Regions from separate parts of the Homo sapiens genome. Here all the other regions are linked to region 4. The links are contacts of gene promoters, found by promoter capture Hi-C in human tissues and cell types (Jung and others, 2019). All regions are on one chromosome and are shown on one strand. Each heading gives the region's core, a stretch centred on a gene start or on the middle of the fragment in contact. The rest is flanking DNA. Distances are from core to core; before and after follow the strand shown.

Evidence for each region. The method cuts DNA at HindIII sites, captures the fragments that hold promoters and counts their contacts. A contact is called where the count stands out against the background at its distance.
Region 1: a fragment that was not itself captured here is called in contact with the fragment with the promoter of RAB3D in region 4 in 1 of the 25 tissues and cell types used here (dorsolateral prefrontal cortex).
Region 2: a contact is called between the fragment with the promoter of TMED1 here and the fragment with the promoter of RAB3D in region 4, in 1 of the 25 tissues and cell types used here (dorsolateral prefrontal cortex).
Region 3: a contact is called between a fragment that was not itself captured here and the fragment with the promoter of RAB3D in region 4, in 1 of the 25 tissues and cell types used here (dorsolateral prefrontal cortex).

What each region holds. Positions count from the first base shown.
Region 1 is chr19:11,758,507-11,761,206 of GRCh38, forward strand. No RefSeq gene overlaps it. Among named protein-coding and RNA genes, the nearest start is that of ZNF441, 7.1 kb to the right of the region's middle. The HindIII fragment of the contact is 5,499 bases long and covers 1-2,700 here.
Region 2 is chr19:10,834,620-10,837,489 of GRCh38, forward strand. It overlaps TMED1 (transmembrane p24 trafficking protein 1), which reads right to left and starts at 1,593. Exons shown (of 4, transcript NM_006858.4): 1 at 1,390-1,593; 2 at 637-734; 3 at 315-498. The coding sequence starts at 1,572. It also overlaps a transcript of C19orf38 not described here. RefSeq lists enhancers at 91-728, 1,366-2,002, 1,768-1,867. The HindIII fragment of the contact is 15,983 bases long and covers 1-2,870 here.
Region 3 is chr19:11,029,269-11,031,968 of GRCh38, forward strand. It overlaps SMARCA4 (SWI/SNF related BAF chromatin remodeling complex subunit ATPase 4), which reads left to right. Exons shown (of 35, transcript NM_003072.5): 25 at 1,462-1,625. Among named protein-coding and RNA genes, the nearest start is that of LDLR, 59 kb to the right of the region's middle. The HindIII fragment of the contact is 7,365 bases long and covers 1-2,700 here.
Region 4 is chr19:11,338,261-11,340,960 of GRCh38, forward strand. It overlaps RAB3D (RAB3D, member RAS oncogene family), which reads right to left and starts at 1,397. Exons shown (of 5, transcript NM_004283.4): 1 at 1,209-1,397. RefSeq lists a silencer at 1,180-1,439. The HindIII fragment of the contact is 13,813 bases long and covers 1,190-2,700 here.

The DNA.
Region 1 (2,700 bases), core at 35-2,534, 420 kb after region 4:
TGACTGCAACGTCCTCCTCCCGGGTACATGCGATTCTCCTGCCTCAGCCTCCTAAGTAGCTGGGACTACAGGTTCACACCACCACGCCTGGCTAATTTTTTGTATCTTTAGTAGAGACAGGGTTTCACTATGTTGGCCAGACTGGTCTCGAATTCCCGACCTCCTGAACTGCGCCCCACCCCCCCACCCTTTCAAAGTGCTGGAATTATAGGTGTGAAAAATTTCCTGTCACTTTAAGAATTATTCCAAAGACATATCTTTCTCTTCCTAGGGCAAATTACCTTAGATTTCTTCTGGGAATTTTGTACTAATCTTTAATGTTTTGGTCTTCCCATTTCATTCCTAAAATGTAGACCCAGAAGAATCACTATATATTATTATAAAATTACATTGAGGCCGGGGGCGGTGGTTCACGCATGTAATCCTAGCACTTTGGGAGGCCGAGGTGGGTGGATCGTCTGAGCTCAGGAGTTCGAGACAAGCTTGGGCAACACAGTGAAACCCCGTCTCTACTAAAAAATACAAAAAAATATTAGCCGGGCATGGCGGCGTGCGCCTGTAGTCCCAGCTACTCGGGAGGCTGAGGCAGGAGAATCAGTTGAACCCAGGAGGCAGAAGCTGCAGTGAGCCAAGATCGTGCCACTACACTCCAGCCTGGGTGACAGAGCAAGACTCCATCTCAAAAAAAAAATAATAATAAATAAAAATAAAATTATATTAAAAATGTAAGATTTTATGTAGACTGCAGTTATGGATGATTTATTCACCAAACCACAGTTGACTCTTCAACAACACAGGTTTGAACTGCATAGATCTCCTTACATACAAATTTTCTTCAGTTTCTGCTACTACTGAGACAGCAAGACCAACCCCTCCTCTTATTCAGCCTACTCAATGTGAAGACAATAAGGATGATAACATTTATGATGCTCCACTTCTACTTAATGAAATAGTAAATATAGTTTTTTCTCCTTGTGATTTTCTGATTAACATTTTTCTCTGCCTTAGTTTATTGTGAGAAAACAATATGTAATGCATATGACATATAAAATATGTGTTAATTGAATGTATATCTTACCAGTAAGGTTTCTGGTCAACAGTAGGCTATTAGTAGTCAAGTTGCGGGGGAGAAAAAAGTTATTTGAAGATTTGTGACTGCATTGAGGGCTGGTGCCCCTAATCCCTGCATTGTTCAAGGGTCAAACGTATTTCTTTTATATTCTAAATCTTTGAACAGCATTGGTGACGAAGAAACAAATATTCGTAATTGACTAAGTAAAGACATGATGTCCCCCTTACCTATACAGTCTAGGTTCCTGATGGTTTCCCGTAGCACATCTCTGTAGAGACTCTTCTATGATGGACCCAGCAAAGCCCACTCCTCCCAGGCAAAAGATCAAAGCCACATCCTCAAAGGCCACTGAGTCCTGAAACACCCGACACGTGCAGAGGAGGAAAGCTGAAACTGACAGCACTGGGAATCTGTACTCACTACATAAATGTCACATGATGCTGTGGTGTCCAAACATTTATGCAACGACACGGTAATCCAACTCTTACCCTCTTTCTAAACTCATTTTCTCCCAGAATGCAATTCTAATGCTAGAATTAAACGTGTTTGGTAAAATAACAGTCGAATTATAAAATGCCACTCCTTGGTGAGTTAAAGGAGTGACATTTATTGCCTAGATCACCCCTAATATCTATGTGTACAGGATGTTTGTAATTCCTGATGTGACAAAGTCCTCCTACCTAATGGGCAGAAGAGTTAACATCAGCTGTCCTGAGACCGCATATTGTTACAAATGCTTGCTCACAAAGTTGAACCTTTCACTATATCTAGGAACTAAATTTAGTTAGGGGGCTTCACCAACATAAGCGATAATGGAGGATGAGTGTCCCTAAACTATGTAAAAAATATGGTATCTGCTGAACTCCTATGTTCCCTCTGAGAGTTCAAACTTTTGTGATATGCTTGGCAGAGGGAGCATACCTGATCATTCACTACTAGGTTTTTTGCTTGTTTTTGTTTTTGTTTTTGTTTTTTTTGAGACAGAGTCTTGCTCTGTCTCCAGGCTGGAGTGCAGTGGCGCAATCTCGGCTCACTGCAACCTCCGCCTCCTGGGTTCAAGCGATTCTCCTGCCTCAGCCTCCCGAGTGGCTGGGATTACAGGCGCACACCACCATGCCCAGCTAATTTTTGTATTTTTAGTAGAGACAGGGTTTCACCATGTTGGCTAGGATGGTCTCGATCTCTTGACCTCGTGATCCACCCACCTCAGCCTCCCAAAGTGCTGGGATTACAGGAGTGAGCCACCGCGCCCGGCCATTCACTGCTAGGTTTGAATGTTTGTCCCCTCCAAAATGCTTGTTGAAACATAATCGCCAATGTGGCACTAATGAAAGGTGAGGCCTTTAAGAGGTGAGTAGATCTTAAGGGTTCAGACCTCATAAATAAATTAATCCATTCATGAATTCATGGCTTACTGAATTAATGAGTTATCTCAGGAGTGGGACTGATGGCCATATTAAAAAAGAAGGGAACCTGAGCTACCACATTCAGCCCATTCTCCATGTGATACCTTCAACCACCTAGAAACTCTGCACAGCCCCCATGACCAAGAAGGCTTTCACCACATGAAGCCCTCTTACTTGCTAGGTTCCAGAACTATAATAAATAATTTTTTTTGTTGTTTTTTG
Region 2 (2,870 bases), core at 343-2,842, 500 kb before region 4:
CAGACGCCCGCCACCACACCCGGCTAATTTTTGTATTTTTAGTAGAGACGGGGTTTCACCATGTTGGCCAGGCTGGTCTCAAAACTCCTGACCTCAGGTGATCCACCCGCCTCAGCCTCCCAAAGTGCTGGGATTACAGGCGTGAGCCACCGTGCCCGGCCTGAAATGAACTACTTATTTTAAGAGCTGCTACTCTTACTATAATTCAGTTGGAGGGCACAACTACGGAGGGGAGGCTGGGTCAGCCCAAGGGGGGCACCCCAGGTGAATCCTAGAGATCTGGAAGGAGTGGCCCCAGCGCAGCCTGGACACACCTTGATGTCCTCCATTTTAACATCCAGCATCTCCTCGGGCTCCACAGCCTCTGCCCATCCTTCGACCTCCTCGTCATCCTGGAGGCTGTCAAAGATCAGTTCAAAGAACACCAGCTTCTCGGAGATGGTGCTGAAGGAGTTGTCAAAGCACAGCTTGTAGTCCCCGGCCTCCGTTGGCTCCACCCTGGGCAGACAGACACACAGACATGACCCAGGGTGGCCAGCCAGCCGACTCAGCGGGGCAGTCAGGGCGGTAACCTGAGGCCGCCTGGGAAGGGCAGGGCTGTAACTGAACCCAGGCAGGCATCAAGACTGAACTCACGTGTGTACCCCATCAGCCTTGCGGGACTCGCTGACCAACAGCACGCCCTGAGGGCTCTCCAGCGTGAAGTCCACGTCCAGTCCAGCACCTCCGATCACCTGGGGGGCAGGTAAGAGCGGGTGGAGGGCTAGCGGTAGGCCAAGGGCGCCTGCCGAAGAGGGCTACGGCTGAACCAACACTGATCAATACAGACCACCAAGGGCTTACCTGAACGGCGGCACACCCACACCCGCCCCAACCTGTCCCAGTGGCTGCGCCCCTTGCCTCCACCCTCATTGATATGACAGCTTGGGGTCCATACTTTCAGCTGACCACGCACCTACCAAAAGTACTTAATGGACGTTTACCTGACCACGCCCCTGGTTGGCTCCGCCTCCGAAAGAGGATAGGCCCAGCCTTTTTCCTTAGTCTAACCCCCGAGAAAGGCCTGTGTGGGCAACGCCCCCGCAGTTGACCTATCAGCACTATCGCCACGCCCACCAGCCAGAGTCCTGTCCTCTCAGAGGCTCCCTATACTTATCGATGGCCCCGCCCCCTCTGGATCTCTTACTCTAGCCCCGCCTGCTTCATTACTCCCTCCCCTTCCGCTCCCACACACCGTCCCCGCCCCATCTGTCCATCTCTTTCTAGCTCCGCCCCCGCGCTCCCAAGCACGGATTCCTCCCCCTTCCTCCTAAAGCGCGCCTCGCCTCGACCGCTTGGCCACGCCCCCTCTCCCTGACTCTGCTGGCCGCCCAGCCCGCGACCCTCTACCTGGTATTCGGTCTCGAGGCTTGCGTTGGCCGGCGCGGACTGGTAGAAACACTGCTTCCTCCCCGCCGGCAACAGGAACGTGAACTCACCGTCCTGGATTGGCGGGGGCCCCGCCCCTCCCACCTCCACTGGTGGCATTAGTAGCCACAAGGCCAGGGCTAGGGCCGCGCCGGCCGCCATCATCCGGGTCACCCTCTGGTCTGCAAAGGGGTCGCGGCTCCTTTAAGCGCTAGCCCTGCCCCGGTGCTACTCGGCGGAGCTCATTGGCAGTGGCTTCTGTATGTTGTCCGTAACCAGAGGTGCCAGGAGTGAAGGACCCCCCCACTAGAGGGCAGGCGGCCCGAATGAATGCCTGATGTGCCCAGAAACACTCAACCGTCTGGGAATATTTTTCTCAAAGGCTTCGGCTCTCTTCTCGGCCGCTGGTGGAGGAAAATTACAAAAATAAGTGCCATGATGGCGCATCTTTTGTAGGCAGTAGCTAAGACAACTAAAGTTACAGGCGGCAGGGTCCTTTTTAGTCACCTCCACGTGGTTTTCCCAGAGTGCGCCGCGCGTGACAACCTTTGGCGGGACCGACGTGGTGGAGTGGACCCAAAAATAGCGTCTAGGCGTGGCCCTGTACGCGACCCGTAGGGCTCGCCTATAAAAGGGCTGGGGCGGGGCGGAGATACCTGTGGCGTCGTGTTTTGCTTGCTCTGTGAGCGTGGTCCAGGTTCGACGCCTTTTGCGCCTTAGAGGCATCAGCGTATCAGTTTCCTCGTAAGTCGGGAGTGATGGAACGACCACCCTGTAGTGCGGCTGTGAGAATTGAGATGAGGCTTGGTTCATATTGAGTGCTCAGCTTTCCTGGCTTATAGACAGTGGAGGGGCGTGGCCCCACCATGCACCCCAAGGGTCTCAGACTCAAGGGCCAGCAGGTAAATAGAGCCATTACAGTAGCCTCGGGTCAGAAAAACGACAGCCCAGGTAGGAAGAGATAAGGACAGTGTGGGACTGGGAGCCACGTTGCCTGGTTCAGCTCCTGCCCCACCCATTACTTGAGGCATTCCCTCTGTTGAGCCTCAGTTTCCTCTTCTGCAAAATGGGGATAATAGGCCTACGCTACTGGGCTGTCTTTAGGATACGTGAAATGCTTGTTGAGTGCTTGCTTCCGCAGTGCGTGGGACATCACAGGCCCTCAGTAAATAATAATCTGTTATTTGGTTCCCGTCTAAACATAAACTGTGTACAGGGAGATGTTTAGTCTTCAAAGATAAACCCGGAAAAGGTTGGCAGGTGATGACAAAGATCCCTCAAATACAGCTGGCTGTTGTCAGCACTTTCCTGCATTTGGAGAATTTGGGGAAGTAGCTCTTTGTAATATCAGTTTGGTATTCCTTTTCACTCCAACTTTTTCTATCATTTACACTCACTGCTTGGACAATTTGAAGTAACAGTGGAGAACGGGTGACTCCTTTTCTTTTTTTTCTTTTTTTTTT
Region 3 (2,700 bases), core at 157-2,656, 310 kb before region 4:
GGCCATCCCGTCTGTGTCGTGTCCCTGACTCCCCCAGGAGAGAGCCTGGTTCCCACCCATCCCAGTGCCCTTCTGCCTACTCCATAAGGACAAGGACTTTGGTCAGTTGAACTACAGATGTGTCCTCTGCATGTGATGTGGTCATGGCCACAGGGCCAGAGAATCCATTGCGAGTAGAGGAAGGGTAGGAGCTCAGTGAAGTCTCCTGAGACTGCATCTCCCATGGGTGGGCTGGCATCTGGGAGCCGGGTGGCCCCTCACCTCAGCCCCTCCTCCGAGCTGGAGTAGCAGGGGCACATCTGGTGCCTGAGAGAGGGTGGGACGGCAGGTGGATGGCCAGGCTACTGTGGGCTTCTGCACCGTGCCTGGGCATGTGTAGGCTGGTGGCAGGAAATGGCCAGTTTTTATTTCTTCTTTTTTTTGAGACGGAGTTTCACTCTTGTTGCCCAGGCTGGAGTGCAGTGGCATGATCTCAGCTCACTGCAACCTCCGCCGCCTGGATTCAAGCGATTCTCCTGCCTCATCCTCCCTGGTATCTGGGATTACAGGCGCCCGCCACTACGCCCAGCTAATTTTCTTGTATTTTTAGTAGAGACGGGGTTTCACCATGTTGGCCAGGCTGGTCTCGAACTCCTGTCCTCAGGCGATCCACCCACCTCAGCCTCCCAAAGTGTTGGGATTACAGGCATGAGTCACCGCGCCCGGCCTGCCAGTTTTTATTTCATCACCAAAATGACTTCAGTGTTCAGGGGCACCTCTGTCCGAACTCCCAGCAGCGCAGGGAGTGTTGACATTGCCTTAATGCCCACAACGCTGAGGGCATCGTGGGTTGTCACCCAGGAGACCTGCTCTGGCTCCTTGACTTGGGTTTTCTGGGGCATGGGGACACTGATCCTGCCAGAAAGGACACGAGCCCCCTTTATAAGGTCTCCATGCTTTTACCGTAGAAGATTCTCTTTGTGAACCACAAAACTTTTTGAGACAGGGCTGAAGGCAGGTGCACCCACAGTCACTGTCCACCCACCCCCAGGTCCCTTGTGTTGCGAGCGGCGGTGTTGCCGGCATTGGCCGCTGTGTCTTCCGCTCCCCATGGAATGGCACAGGGTAGAGTAGAGGAGAGAATCCAGGGCTGTGGTGGTGGTGGCTGTGCTGACGCTGGACGCTGTGGCCTAGCTGTGGGCTGGGTGCTGGACTCTGTGCTCCAGGCCCACCTCCTCTAGTTCTCCCAGCGGGGCCTGTTTTCATTTCTGGGATGTGTGGAGAGACGTTTTGTGGTGAAACACTGGAAATCCAGTTATTCGCCAGTGGCCCACAGGCCCGTGTGGAGAGTGCGGAGCCAGGGATCTGGGGATGCTGGCAGGTGCTGATCCTGCTCCTGCTCTCAGAAGCAGGTGTTCCTTGGTGTCCCCACTCTACCCCTGAGGTCACCCCGCTGACCCTGTTCTCCTCTGTGCCCGTCAGGAACCACGAAGGCGGAGGACCGGGGCATGCTGCTGAAAACCTTCAACGAGCCCGGCTCTGAGTACTTCATCTTCCTGCTCAGCACCCGGGCTGGGGGGCTCGGCCTGAACCTCCAGTCGGCAGACACTGTGATCATTTTTGACAGCGACTGGAATCCTCACCAGGTAAAAGCGGGCCGGGCCCCAGGTCGAGGAGAAGGAAGGGGGTGCCTGCAAAACCTCGAGGAGACGGCCCTGGCTTGAGGGTCCTCCAGCCTCCTCCACATTGTCTTGGACCCCAGGAGCCGGGAGGAGCTGCACCCATATCTCCATAGGTCATCAGGGAGAAAAGAGGCGGGGTCCTCCTGTTTCCCAAAATACAAACAGCCTTTCCCTCTGATTGGGAAAGCAGTGTATAAGCCATCCGTCGGTTTGGTTTTTCTTAAATCTTGGAATGGCACCCATGAGGAGGTGGAAAGTATCCTGATCAATCTGCGCCGTCACTGTGGGGCGGCCCCTGCAGTGTGCCCTGTGAGCACACACACTGGCGCTTGTTCAGACACAATTGGGGGTAAACTCCATGCCACTTCGTTTACTTCCTCCTCTTGTTCCATAACCATGTACCCCTCATGGGCCTCGGCATCGGTGGATACCAGGTCATGCTGTTACATAGCTACAAGAATTTGAAAATGAGTTAAACTTTTCTCTGTGTTTCATTATAAGACTGATAAGTTCTTATTGTTTTTAACATGTAAACACCAGTGACAGTCAGGAGTCCCTTTTCCCTTCCTCTCCAACCGTGCTCTCTTCTGAGCCTCTGCCAGCCCATCTGCCTTCGCACATGTATGTACTGAGATTAACACAGATGCGGCGTGGCCTAGCATGTGCCTCTTCCACCAAGCAGTGGGTGTCAACCGCCGAGTGCACATCGGAAGCTACCCAGCCATCTAATCGGCCACCAGGCGTCCCGGCAGATGGCCACCCCTGGACGTCTGCTCTCAAACTCTGGTTGGCAGGCATCCGTCTTTTCTGTTGATCAGCCTGGTCACCAACCCAGCAGGGTCCCTCTTTCTCTCAGAGTGCTTGTGCAAACACCCTAGGTCTGCGCAGCCCTCAGACATGGGGTCGCTCCACCCCAGACATTGTCCTCTTCGTGTTCTGGTTGCTACTGCCAAAGTGGTTTCACTCCTACGCTGGGGTGTGAATGTACCCTGCCCTTCCCTGCAGCGTGAGGGCAGCAGCGTTCTCAGTGTGTAAATTG
Region 4 (2,700 bases), core at 147-2,646:
CAAAGGGTTCAAGTGCAAGGCCGAGGGTAAGGGGCTCTGGCCCCTGCAGAACTAGATTCTGGAGAAGGCACAGGTGTGGACTTCGCCCCAGCGTGTGCAGCCGGTGTGGCCCAGGTGTAAGCTGGGGTGGGGTGGGGGGAGGACCTGCCAGCTGGATAAGCTGGATAGAGCCCCTGATTAAGGCTTGGGTGTTGACTTTGGCAGGTGTCAGCCACTGGGGCGCCTGCCGCCCACCAACTCATGCCAAATACAACCCCTTCTCTGAGTTCCAAGGGGAAGGGGTTTTCTATGTACAGGGCCCAGGTTTAGAGTCCAGTTCTACCCCCTAAATGGGTACTGCTATTTTCTATTTGTCAAAGGGGCCAGGCCTGTCTCCTTCTGCCCAAGGCTGACTCACTCCAGCCCCAGTCCACGGAGGCAGGAGTGAGAGTCCTTATACCCAAGGAAACGATCCCAGCCACTTAATTAACACAACCCCACCACCACGACCACTGCCGCCCACCCTTGGTCTTTCCAGGCAATCTGTCCCACGGCTAGGCTCCTTGAATCTGCCCACACTCCAACATGCTGCTTCATCCGAGTCCAAGGTGCTCCCTCAACCCTCATAACCTCTCCCAGGCCTCAGTTTCCCCAGCTGTCTATGGCCGCTGCGGGAACCGCACGGAGAGGCTGCAGAAGGCCTGGATGCAGGCGGGGCAGAGGCAGAGACAGCCCTGGCACAGCTATTTCTCAACTGCCTTTGGGGCTTTTTTCCATTTTAAACCAGGACCCAACCGGCCCCACCCCGTGTTCCAGGAGAACGAGTTTAAGGAGGGGAAGAGAAGAGGCAGGAAACCTTTCCCCACGCAGGGCAGGGCCGCAAGGCTGGGGCCCCCACCTCCCCCAGCCTTAGCTCACCTGTGTCAGTCGGTCCCGCCTCTTTCTAACCATCTGCCGACCCTCCCTCAAGCCTGGCCCCGGAGGGCTCGCCTCTGTTCCCCTTCACTAGATTTGGGGCGCCCCAGCCAATGCAGGTGGACTCAGGAGTTTCCCCCATCACCATATGGTCCCAACGCCTGTCCCCAGCTGGGCTCTCTGCCCCGCCCGCGCCCCATCAGCGCTTCCCAAGTGCCCAGCTGGGTGGGGGCGAGGGCAGAGGCGTTCCCCGCAGCCCCGCCTTTGTTCCCCAGACCCCCTACCTTCCTCCCAAACCCCCGTACCCCACAGACCTGCTCGGATGCGGAGGGGCCGGGTGGGCTGCGCTCCTTCCCAGGGGTGACCTCGCGTAGGGGGCGCCGCCTGCAGGGGTTCCGCCTGTGAACTCGCTGCGGCTTGGCCCTGGCCGCGACCCCGACCCCGCAGCCGCAGAAGCCAGCAGCCTGCAGCCACCCGGATCCCGCGCGGGCTCCGCCCAGAAGGCGGAGGAAGGGCCGTTCCCGGAGCGGGGGATGGGGGAGGACGAAGAGGGGCCGAGTCTTGGGCGGGGCTTTCAGAGAGCGGGTGGGAGGGGCTGGAAGCTGCACCAAGCGTCTAGAGCCCGTCCTAGCCAAGCAACATCTCATTTTCCCAGCTGCTTGTAAAGAGCTTCTACTATACGCACGGCTGTTAAAAGCATAGAGTCTTGGGCCTGGTTCGAGTCCCAGCTCCACCACTTTCTAGTCTTGTGGCTTTGGACGCGTTACTTAACCTCTTTGAGCCTCAGTTTCCCCATCCGTCAAGTAGCTCATAGCGAGAGTACCCAACCTCACAGAGTTGTGGGAGGATTCTGATCTGAGTTAGTGTTTGTCAAGTGCAGTGCCGGCCTTAAAGTAGGCTAGGCCAGGCGCGGTGGCCTGTAATTACAGCAGTTTGGGAGGCCGAGGCAGGAGAATCACTTGAGGCCAGGAGTTTGAGACCAGCTTGGGCATCGTAAGGAGACCTCATCTCTACTAAAAATAACAAAAATTAGCCAGGTGTGGTGGCGTGCGTCTGTAACCCCAGCTACTTGGGAGGCTGAGGCAGGAGGATTGCTGGAGACATCGAGGCTGCAGTGAGCCTTGATTGCACCACAGCACTCCAGCCTGGGCAACAGAGCAAGACCCTGTTTCAAATAAATAAAAATAAACGAGAGCTGGGCGCGGTGGCTTATGCCTGTAATCCCAGTACTTTGGGAGGCCAAGGCAGGCGGATCACTTGAGGTCAGGAATTTAAGACCAGCCTGGCCAACATGGTGAAACCTCATCTCTACTAAAAAAAAAAAAAAAAAAATACAAATATTAGGGGCTGGGCACGGTGGCTCACACCTGTAATCTCAGCACTTTGGGAGGCCGAGGTGGGCAGATCACCTGAGGTCGGGAGTTCGAGACTAGCCTGGCCAACGTGAAGAAACCCTGTCTCTACTAAAAAATACAAAATTAGCCAGGCGTGGTGACGCATGCCTGTAATCCCAGTTACTCTGGAAGCTGAGGCAGGAGAATTGCTTGAACCCGGAAGGCGGAGGTTGCAGTGAGCCGAGATCACGCCACTGCACTCCAGCCTGGGCAAAAAGAGCGAAACTCTGTCTCAAATAAATAAATAAATATACAAAAATTAGCCGAGCATGGTGGTGCACACCTGTAATCCCAACTACTTGGGAGGCTGAGGCAGGAGAATCGCTTGAACCCAGGAGGTGGAGGTTGCAGTGAGCCGAGATCGCGCCACTGCACTCCAGCCTAGACGATGGAGTGAGACTCTGTCTCAAAA